Regions from separate parts of the Homo sapiens genome. Here region 1 is linked to region 2. The links are contacts of gene promoters, found by promoter capture Hi-C in human tissues and cell types (Jung and others, 2019). All regions are on one chromosome and are shown on one strand. The core of a region is centred on a gene start or on the middle of the fragment in contact, and the rest is flanking DNA. Distances in the headings are between cores, read along the strand shown. Region 1 overlaps LOC124904205 (a long non-coding RNA gene). Region 2 holds the start of GNG5 (G protein subunit gamma 5).

The links. The method cuts DNA at HindIII sites, captures the fragments that hold promoters and counts their contacts. A contact is called where the count stands out against the background at its distance.
Region 1: a contact is called between a fragment that was not itself captured here and the fragment with the promoter of GNG5 in region 2, in 1 of the 25 tissues and cell types used here (hippocampus).

Annotation. Positions count from the first base shown.
Region 1 is chr1:84,002,178-84,006,492 of GRCh38, reverse strand. It overlaps LOC124904205 (a long non-coding RNA gene), which reads right to left. Exons shown (of 2, transcript XR_007066195.1): 2 at 2,440-3,217. Among named protein-coding and RNA genes, the nearest start is that of TTLL7, 5.2 kb to the right of the region's middle. The HindIII fragment of the contact is 3,634 bases long and covers 813-4,315 here.
Region 2 is chr1:84,503,834-84,508,279 of GRCh38, reverse strand. It overlaps GNG5 (G protein subunit gamma 5), which reads left to right and starts at 1,699. Exons shown (of 4, transcript NM_005274.3): 1 at 1,699-1,844; 2 at 1,979-2,269. The coding sequence starts at 2,189. It overlaps SPATA1 (spermatogenesis associated 1), which reads right to left and starts at 1,894. Exons shown (of 14, transcript NM_001397487.1): 1 at 1,862-1,894. RefSeq lists silencers at 1,974-2,053, 2,304-2,433 and an enhancer at 4,093-4,446. The HindIII fragment of the contact is 15,510 bases long and covers 1-4,446 here.

The sequences.
Region 1 (4,315 bases), core at 1,380-3,879, 500 kb after region 2:
GGAAAATAATATCTTTCTTTCATATGATGGTCTTGTAGTACTATCTTATTATAAGAGCAAGGGAAGGGAAGATAACAATTTATGAAAAGGAAAAATCCCAGCAAGCTTGCAGATAAATGAGTAGAAAGGGGAATTAATGAAACTTGATCAGACTGGCAATCATAAAAAAATGTAAAAGGGAAAACAACATGATAAAATAAATAAGTACAAAGTAAGATGGGAAGAATAAACTTACACATATCAGGCATTTCACAAAATGTGATTGGACTGACACTCTCTTATTAAAAAAAGACTTTATTTAAAAAGTAGATTTATGTTTTTTGAAAAATGCATACCTAAAATACAGTAATAAAAGAGCCTGAAGATAAAAGAAGAACCAAACCAGACAATGAAAAAGCACAGAAAAGTATGAACAGAGGCAATTTTAACAGCAAACAATGCAGAATAGAAGGTTAAAGCACTAAGAAATATAAGGAAAGATATTATCAAATTGATTATATGTTCTGTTTTTAGCAAACAAAATAAAAAAAACTAAATAAACAAGCCAAACTTTTAGGACTGCAAGGGGACATTTTATTTAAATTAGAAAAAGGAAATTAAAGAACATGATAAAAATAATTGTTCTGGATTTTTCAGTGTATCTCTCCCAGAAATGAAATGATTTTGACAAAAAAGAAAAGCTATGGAGACAACATAGAGTAAGTGAGTAATACAATTATTAAACTTAACATGTTAAACATTGTCATAGTCCATTCAGGCTGCTATAACAAAATACCATAGACACAGTTCTGGGGCTGTAAAGTTCAAGATCAAGGTGCCAGCAGATTTAGTGTCTGGTGAAGGCCTGCTTTCTGGTTCATATATGACGCTTTCTCCCTGGTGTCCTCACATGATGGGCAGGGCAGGGTAGCTGGCTGGGGCCTCTTTTATAAGGCATTAATTTCATTCATGAGGGCTCTGCCCTCATGACCTAATTGTCTTCCAATGGCCCCACCTTCTAATAAAATCACATTGATAATTAGGTTTCAACATATGAATTTTGTGGGAACATAAACTTTCAGACTATGGCACTTTCTTTTTGAGATAGGGTCTCACTCTTTCACCTGGATTGAATGCAGTGGTGCAATCATCGTTCACTGTAATCTCGAACTTCTGGGCTCAAGTGATCCTTCCACCTCAGCCTCCCTAGCAGCTGGGACTACAGGTGTGCCAATTTTTTTGTCGAAACAGGGTCTCACTTTGTTGCTTAGGTTAGTTTTGAACTCCTGGCCTCAAGGGATGCTCCTGCCTTGTCCTCTCAAAGTGTTGGGATTACAGGCATGAGCACATATTAATATAGTACATTTTATTCTTTGAATACACACATACACACGCACACACATATATATACACACCCCCACCCACACACACACACACACACACACATATATACACATATATTTCATAGTTCCCTAAAACTTTTACAAAACAAATCATGTGCTTAGCTGAAAGGAAAACCAAATTCAAAGAAGTAGAAAGCTTACAGGTTACATCCTCTCACCACAGTTCAGTAAAATAAATTGGAAATAAAGAAGCACATAATAAGACAAACCTTGTATGACAGAGGAAATTAAATAATATAGAAATGTCCAGAAACATTGACAAATCAAACACTCTAAAAATAATGGGACACAGCAAAAACTGAACTCAGAGGAAAATGTGTTGCCTTTAATTATGGAAGCAGAAAGGTGAGTACAAAGGCATTAAGTAAGTAATGAGTCCATGTAAGAACAACAACAATAGCAAAAAGAAAACAAAAGAAACTCTGAAGAGGTATCAACAGTGAAATTATTAAAATAGATAAAATGGTAGAAAAGAATGATAAATTCAAAGATTGCTTCTTTAAAAAGACAAATAAAATAAACATCATGTGAACCTGCTAAGGAAAAGATAATAAGATCATAATTAGACATGATCAATTGTGTGAAAGTAGGAAAGAGATTAAAAGAATTCTAAGTAAATACTAAAGATGATCCTAGCAACACATTAGGAAAATAAAACCTAGAAGAAGTGAATACTTTCCTAGGAAAATATACATGATCACAACTGACACAGAAGAAGTGAAAAACTTGAATAGACCAATTATTACAGAAGAGATTGGAGAAGTGATTAATGATCTGCTATTGAAGAAGGCCACAGGCAGATGAATTCACAGCTGAATTTTTAATCTAACTATTAAAGAACGGATAATTCCAATATTATTTAAACTATTGTAAGTCTTAGAAAAAAATGGAAAGTTCCCCAGTTAATTTCATGAAGCCAGACTAACTTGAGTACCAAAGCCTAAGAAGGAGTAAAACAACAATTAAAAGTACAGGCTGATTTCATTTCTGAATATAGCTGCCAAATGTTTAAATAACAGAGAATACAATAGAGGAATGAATCACGTGAATAACATGGTGTGAAAAAATAGGCTTTATTAGAGGAATGAAAAGGCGGTTCAATATCAGGAAGTCTAGCTACATATTGATTACATTAAAAATTAAAGGGAAAAAGCCCAACCATTATCAATAAGTTGTGGAAAGGCATCAGATAAAAGTCAAGTGACTTTAAGCAAAATAGAATCAGAAAAAATTTCTTTTATAATAAAGGAAAGCCCAATAGCGAACATCATCCCAAATCACAAAAATTAAATCTTTCACTTAAAATCTGGAATCAGGCATCACCACAATCACTTACATTAGTGATTCTAACAAATATAAATAAAATAACTGGTATAAATTATAACAAATATACATTTTTATATATTTTATAAACAGTCTCACTCTGTTGCTCGGAGTGGAGCCAGTGGCGTGATCAAGGCTCACTGCAGCCTTGAACTCCTGGACTAAGGGATCTTCCCACATTGGCCTCCTGAGTAGCTGGGACTGTAGGCTGGTGCCACCACGCACAGCTAATTTCTTATTTTTTATAGAGACAGATCTCCTTATGTTGCCCAGGCTGGTCTCAAATTCCTGGGGTCAAGTGTTCCTTTCACGCTGGCCTTCCGAAGTGTTGGGATTACTGGCATAAGCCATTGTGCCCAGCCAGAAACAAAGTTCTTGATATTGCTGATATGCCTGTTTTCTTGGAAAATCCAAGGGACTCATGAAAAAACAAGTAATAAGATAATTTGGTGCACTGAATGAATACAAAATAAATTACAGAAAGCATCATCTCTCTGTTCTGGTAGAAGACCCTACAAAAGGAAATGGAAAGAACATTTCATTCAGAATACAAGTGCTATAAAAAATTTGGTACAACTTTGGTAAGAAAGTTACAGAACATATATAAGCAAAATTATAAAAATATGATTGGGAAATGAAAAAACATAAACTAGAAAAGCTTATTATCTTCTTGGATGAAATGACTTACTGTCATGTAAATTCTCCAAAAATTAAAACAAAAGTCTAATGCAATATGACTTTTTGTCTTATATAAAATGCCGTATAATAATTAAAAAGGGCTTAAAGTCCAATATCTATATATAAAAGTAATTTTGAATGAGTATCATTTTAAATTTGGGGCTTTTTGAAGATTTGTTGAGAATGACAAAAACAACACTGAGAAAAATTCTAAACCCTTTAATAAATACATTTTATATGATAAATGTAAAATTACATAATGTAGGTTTTAAATAACAGCCTCTTATTTCCTTCTTAATAAAAGGTGGGATTAAGGGGTTAAGTCTAGAAGCCTGAATGTTATTTTTTGTAGGCCCCATATTGTTTTTGTCCAGTATGGTCTGGTCAAACTTGGCTGTACATTAGAACCACCTACAGAACTTCATAGGAATCTAGTTTCCAGAGTCTCATGCAGGAGTTCCTGCAATCATAATTTTGCAGCAAGAATTTTAGGCATCACTGGTCAAGTTTATGTTACAAGGTTCACTTCTTATTCTTAAATTCAGGGTCTCTTTTCTGAGCACAGAAACCTAGAAAAGGGTATCCAATGTTTAAATCTTCTGTGGGAAATGACTCATTTCCTCTTAGAAATGAGAGTTGAAAACAGGTTTTTAATAATAAATAAAAAATAGATTCTGCTGCAGAGAAACATGCAATGTACATGTTCTCTATAGCAGGAGACAGTAAAAGTATGCTGATATTCACGTCATGTATTGGTTAGTGTTTGAAATCCAGCTTTGTCTCTTTCCAATTGTGCTACCTTTGACAAATTAATACACCCTTGTAATTCTCAGTTTCTTCATTTATAAAATGGGAGTGATAATAGTACTTACTTCACATAATACTAGTTACTCAAACACTAATGATTTAATAAGTGTTAGCTAAACGCAAAG
Region 2 (4,446 bases), core at 450-2,949:
ACGGAGTCTCACTCTGTCGCCAGGCTGGAGTGCAGTGGTGCCATCTCGGCTCACTGCAACCTCTGCCTCCCAGGTTCAAGCGAATCTCCTGCATCAAGCCTCCTGGGCAGCTGGGACTCCTGGGTGGCGCGCACCACCACGCCCAGCTAATTTTTGTATTTTTTAGTAGAGACGGTTTCCCCACGTTGGCCAGGATGGTCTCGATCTCTTGACCTCGTGATCTGCTCGCCTCAGCCTGCTAAAGTGCTGGGATTACAGGCGTGAGCCACCATACCAGGCCTCAATGTTTTATTTTTCTTTTGTATCCTAAATAGAATCTTTAAACACACGCTACAAAAAAATAACACCTGGTGTTTGAGACAGCACTCCAGTCTGTGGTTTCCCAATGCAGCAGTTAATAAAAAAGCAACAATTTTTTTTTTTTCTGAAACTGTTTCGGCCTAAAACACTGCTTATTCCTCAACAGTCTCCCTCACAGAAGTAATTATTGGACCATATATTCCCTAAAATCTCTTCCAGCATTAACATACCACGGTTCTAAGAGTTCAGTGATATATTTTACAACTACTGTAAAACAGATCATTCTTTGAATAGATACTTGTGTTTAATCTTACAAATCTGTAAAGTATGAATGACGTTTTAGCATTATACAGTCAACAAAGCACCAAAGGTGAAATAATTACAATACCTTTTGGGAAAAGACAATATTTATTGAGATAGCTTTCACATTCTTTTTACATATAATGTCATTTCATTCCGAAAAACAACTCTACGAAGCTGTATAATTTACTTTGAAATAAGGAAATAAAGCCTCAGTAACTTAAGTGGCTTGCCCAAGAATACCGTAAGTAGCAGAGCCAGAATTCAAACCCTGGTTTTAACCCCAATCATTACATCCGTATGAATTAAGTAAAATGCTAAACTTACGATGTACATTTTTGCGAACTGATATAAACTGTTGAGTAAATAAATTAGATTTTGTTGACCAGTGCAATTACACATGCTTCCCTAATAAAAAATTTGAAATCCATTAATGATAAAATTATTAACATTAATGGAAAACATCAGCGCATTCGGAGATTGACTACCCGAAAAGAAATAGGAAACATCTGCCCTTAGTGCTGTGACATAACACACATATTTCCGTGGATGAAAGAAAGACCTACTGGCTGAGCCTATTTTGTTTGGTTAGACCCTACCCTCTCTCCTAAAAACTCCTTTGGTACTCAATTTCAAGCAGGAGGTAATAAATTACAACGGAAATACTAAAGAGCAAACTTTCCGGAAACACAAAAATAAGTTTTATTTTAAAAAGTACAATAAGCATTAATTCTCCAGAGTAAATGGGTAACCGAGCAGACAGGTGTAATCTTCAGCCAGCACCTTGGCTTCTTCACAATCTCCTTCAGAAAAACCGATTCAAGAGCTAAGAAGCCAGTAAAGTCAAACCTCGAGAAGATCCCTTCTCCAGCGAATCAGCGCCCCTGCTCCCCGCCCGCCCGGCTCCGCTGGGTACGCGACAGCGACCTCCGCGCCTGCTCTCCGCCTCGGGTCAGCGGGGCTGGGGGTTGGGGGTGGAACTGAAAATGCCTGTTGGCCAAACTCGGGTCACAGAGAGACACGCCTGTACGGGGCGGGGGTGTGCGGGTGACTCACGCCGGGTGCACAGTAGCTCCTACGCCTCACCCAGTATCTCCCCTCACTTCCCTCAACCCTTCCCACAAACTGGGAGGAAAACTGAGACCTCCTGGTCACCCGCCGCCGGGCCTTTTAGAAACTCCCACAAGCTCTGCCTTCCCTCCCTGGTCCTCTTCAGACCCCCTCTTAGTTCTTCGCGGCTAACGGTAAGCTCTCTCCTTACCTCTCCCTAATCGGCCCCTCTGGAGAGGAAAAGAAAACTTAAGAGTCGGGTCGCGCTAGCCTCCAGCAGCCGCCGCGCCCACCGACTGCTCCGCCCCTTCTCCTCCCCCTCCTCCAGGCTCGCGCTCGGGGCCGGGTGTGGAGCTGGAACAGAGGGCTGGCAAGGCGCGCATGCGCACCGAGGGTGGAGCCGCTGAGCACAGAACCGGAAACTTAGAGACAAAGTTCGGAGCCCCGCCCCCGCCGCGCGCCGCTGAGTTGTCTGGCCCCGCCGACCCACGGCCCACGACCCACCGACCCACGAATCGGCCCGGCCGTCGCGTGCACCATGTCTGGCTCCTCCAGCGTCGCCGCTATGAAGAAAGTGGTTCAACAGCTCCGGCTGGAGGCCGGACTCAACCGCGTAAAAGTGAGCGGGGGCGGGCGGCCGAGGCGGGAGGAAGGCGGCGGCGGCGGGTGGGATCCGGCGGCCCAGCTGGCGGGGGCGGGCGGGACACGCGCCGGCCCTCGCTTCCCCTGGAGAGGACGCGCGCTCAGCGGCGGCGATCGGGGAGCGGCCAGCTTTAGAGCAGGCGCCGCGTGGGTCTACGCTGTGTTTTAGGGGGACGATTAGTTCGCCCTTCCGCCCCAGGACTTTCCGAGGCGGGCTGGCCCCTGGGTTGAACCGTGGCCGACATTCCGGTCCTCCTCCGTCTCTACCTCCCTTGGCAGCCTTCTCGGCTGGTCTCACCAACAGCTGCGCCTCCGCGCGCTGTCCGCACCCTTCCTTTCCCACTTTGCCAGCCTCCTGTTTCTCATCGGACAGGGTATTTTCCGACTTTTGATTCAGAGCAGACTTTTCTCCCATTTGATCTTTCCCAAACCTACTTCCTTTAGTATTAAATTCTTACCTTCAACTTCTCTTGTCCGTTGAACACATACTTTTAAGCGAATTATTGCATAACTTAAACTGTGGATTGAATAAGCATTTTTCGAAACGATCCTGGAGTGTAAAGTTCCGGTCAGTGCCCCGTACAACCTCGAACAAAGCGTGCATTTCATACCTATGGCACAGTTTGCTCATATTTGACCTTGGGGATATCGACTGGTCCGCATGCCGGAGAAAATGATTATTGTGGGTAATTATTGGTCTTATTTTGGCGTCTGGTTAGTATTGGCCTTGTCTTGGGGTACTTTGGGAGAAAAAGCCTTTTGTCTGTGTTGATAGAATAACTTGACATTCAAGTGCTGTTCTAAGTATTTCCTGATTTTTACAGTCCTAAATGGATTGGCTTCTTTCTGGTACAATAGGTCAGGCTACATGTGAAACACTTCTGCAGTTAAAAAAAGAAACAAGAATGTAAATCATGTGCCCTGTTAAAAGCAGCCAGTTCCTAAGATGATTTGATTTTATACTCATCAGGCTAGTCTTTATTACTTGCCGAAATGTTTTGTGAACTGAGAGGGTCTCTAAGCTTTCTTAACTAGAAGTGTCAGAGACCTAGCTTACTCAGTTGTGGTCACCTCAGAAGGGAAGGGAAATTCTCATTCGTCTTGGTGCAGGATCCTCCTGAGAGAGAGTCTCCCATTTAGTTTTGTTAACTAGAAATGTCAGGGACCTAGCTTACTCAGTTGTGGTCAACTCAGAAGGGAAGGGAATTCTCATTCGTCTTGGTGTGGGATCCCCCTCACGTCCAGTCCTTGAAATGCTGTAGACCTCACTGCAGTTTGGAATCCATTTCTCTACTCTCCCAATTCTTACCTCATCACAGTGGTTTCTAGTCAGTCTTGGCTGGATTTGGCTCTGAAACTCGAAATCATTTATTTCGTAACCATTAAATGTCATTCAGGTGTGCCTTTATCATAGATAGGATGGACCAAGAAAAAAAAATGGGGGTGGGATAGTGAAAGCAATAAATTGTACATCTTTAGTCTCCAAAGAAAATGACATGAGGTTCTCAGGCTAAAATACTCCAAGAGCTTTACTTTGAAAACCCTAGCTGCTGCTCCCCTAATTCCCCAAAACTGATCCTACCTAAATCTTCAGTAGACTTCTGGTTCTGGTCGGGATCATTAAAGGCACCAGACATGATTTGGTTTTGGAGTTATTGCCTGATGTTAAGGCTGTAGCAAGAAGGGGAGCATCCCCTTTTGTACTTTTTAATGAGCTTTTCTTTAGACATGTTGCTAAATGTGGTTTAACGTTGTGTATCTGTTTTATCAATGACTGGGCTAGGTGATTTTTTTGTGAGATTTTTAAACTAGCACAATCTTACTTTTAACCTTTATGTGTGAGTACAATTGATAGAACTTACCATAAGTGCTTGACAAACTGTCATAGGTAGGTCAGGACATTTTTGAGAGTGAGAAGGGGCACTAATAGGCCAGGATTACAGGGTTTCAACCTCCTGGATGGTGATTGTTACAGTGCCTTAGGGGCTAGCAGCTTGTTCCAGTTTTAGAGTCTTTGTCTCAGCTTTCCTCACTGTTTGGAATGCTGTTTCTCACTGATGGTTATTTGGCTGGATCTCTTGTCATTGAGATCTCAGCTTCAATGTCACCTCAGACACCTTCCCTTAGGTGGGCACCCAGTCACCATCTAAAAGA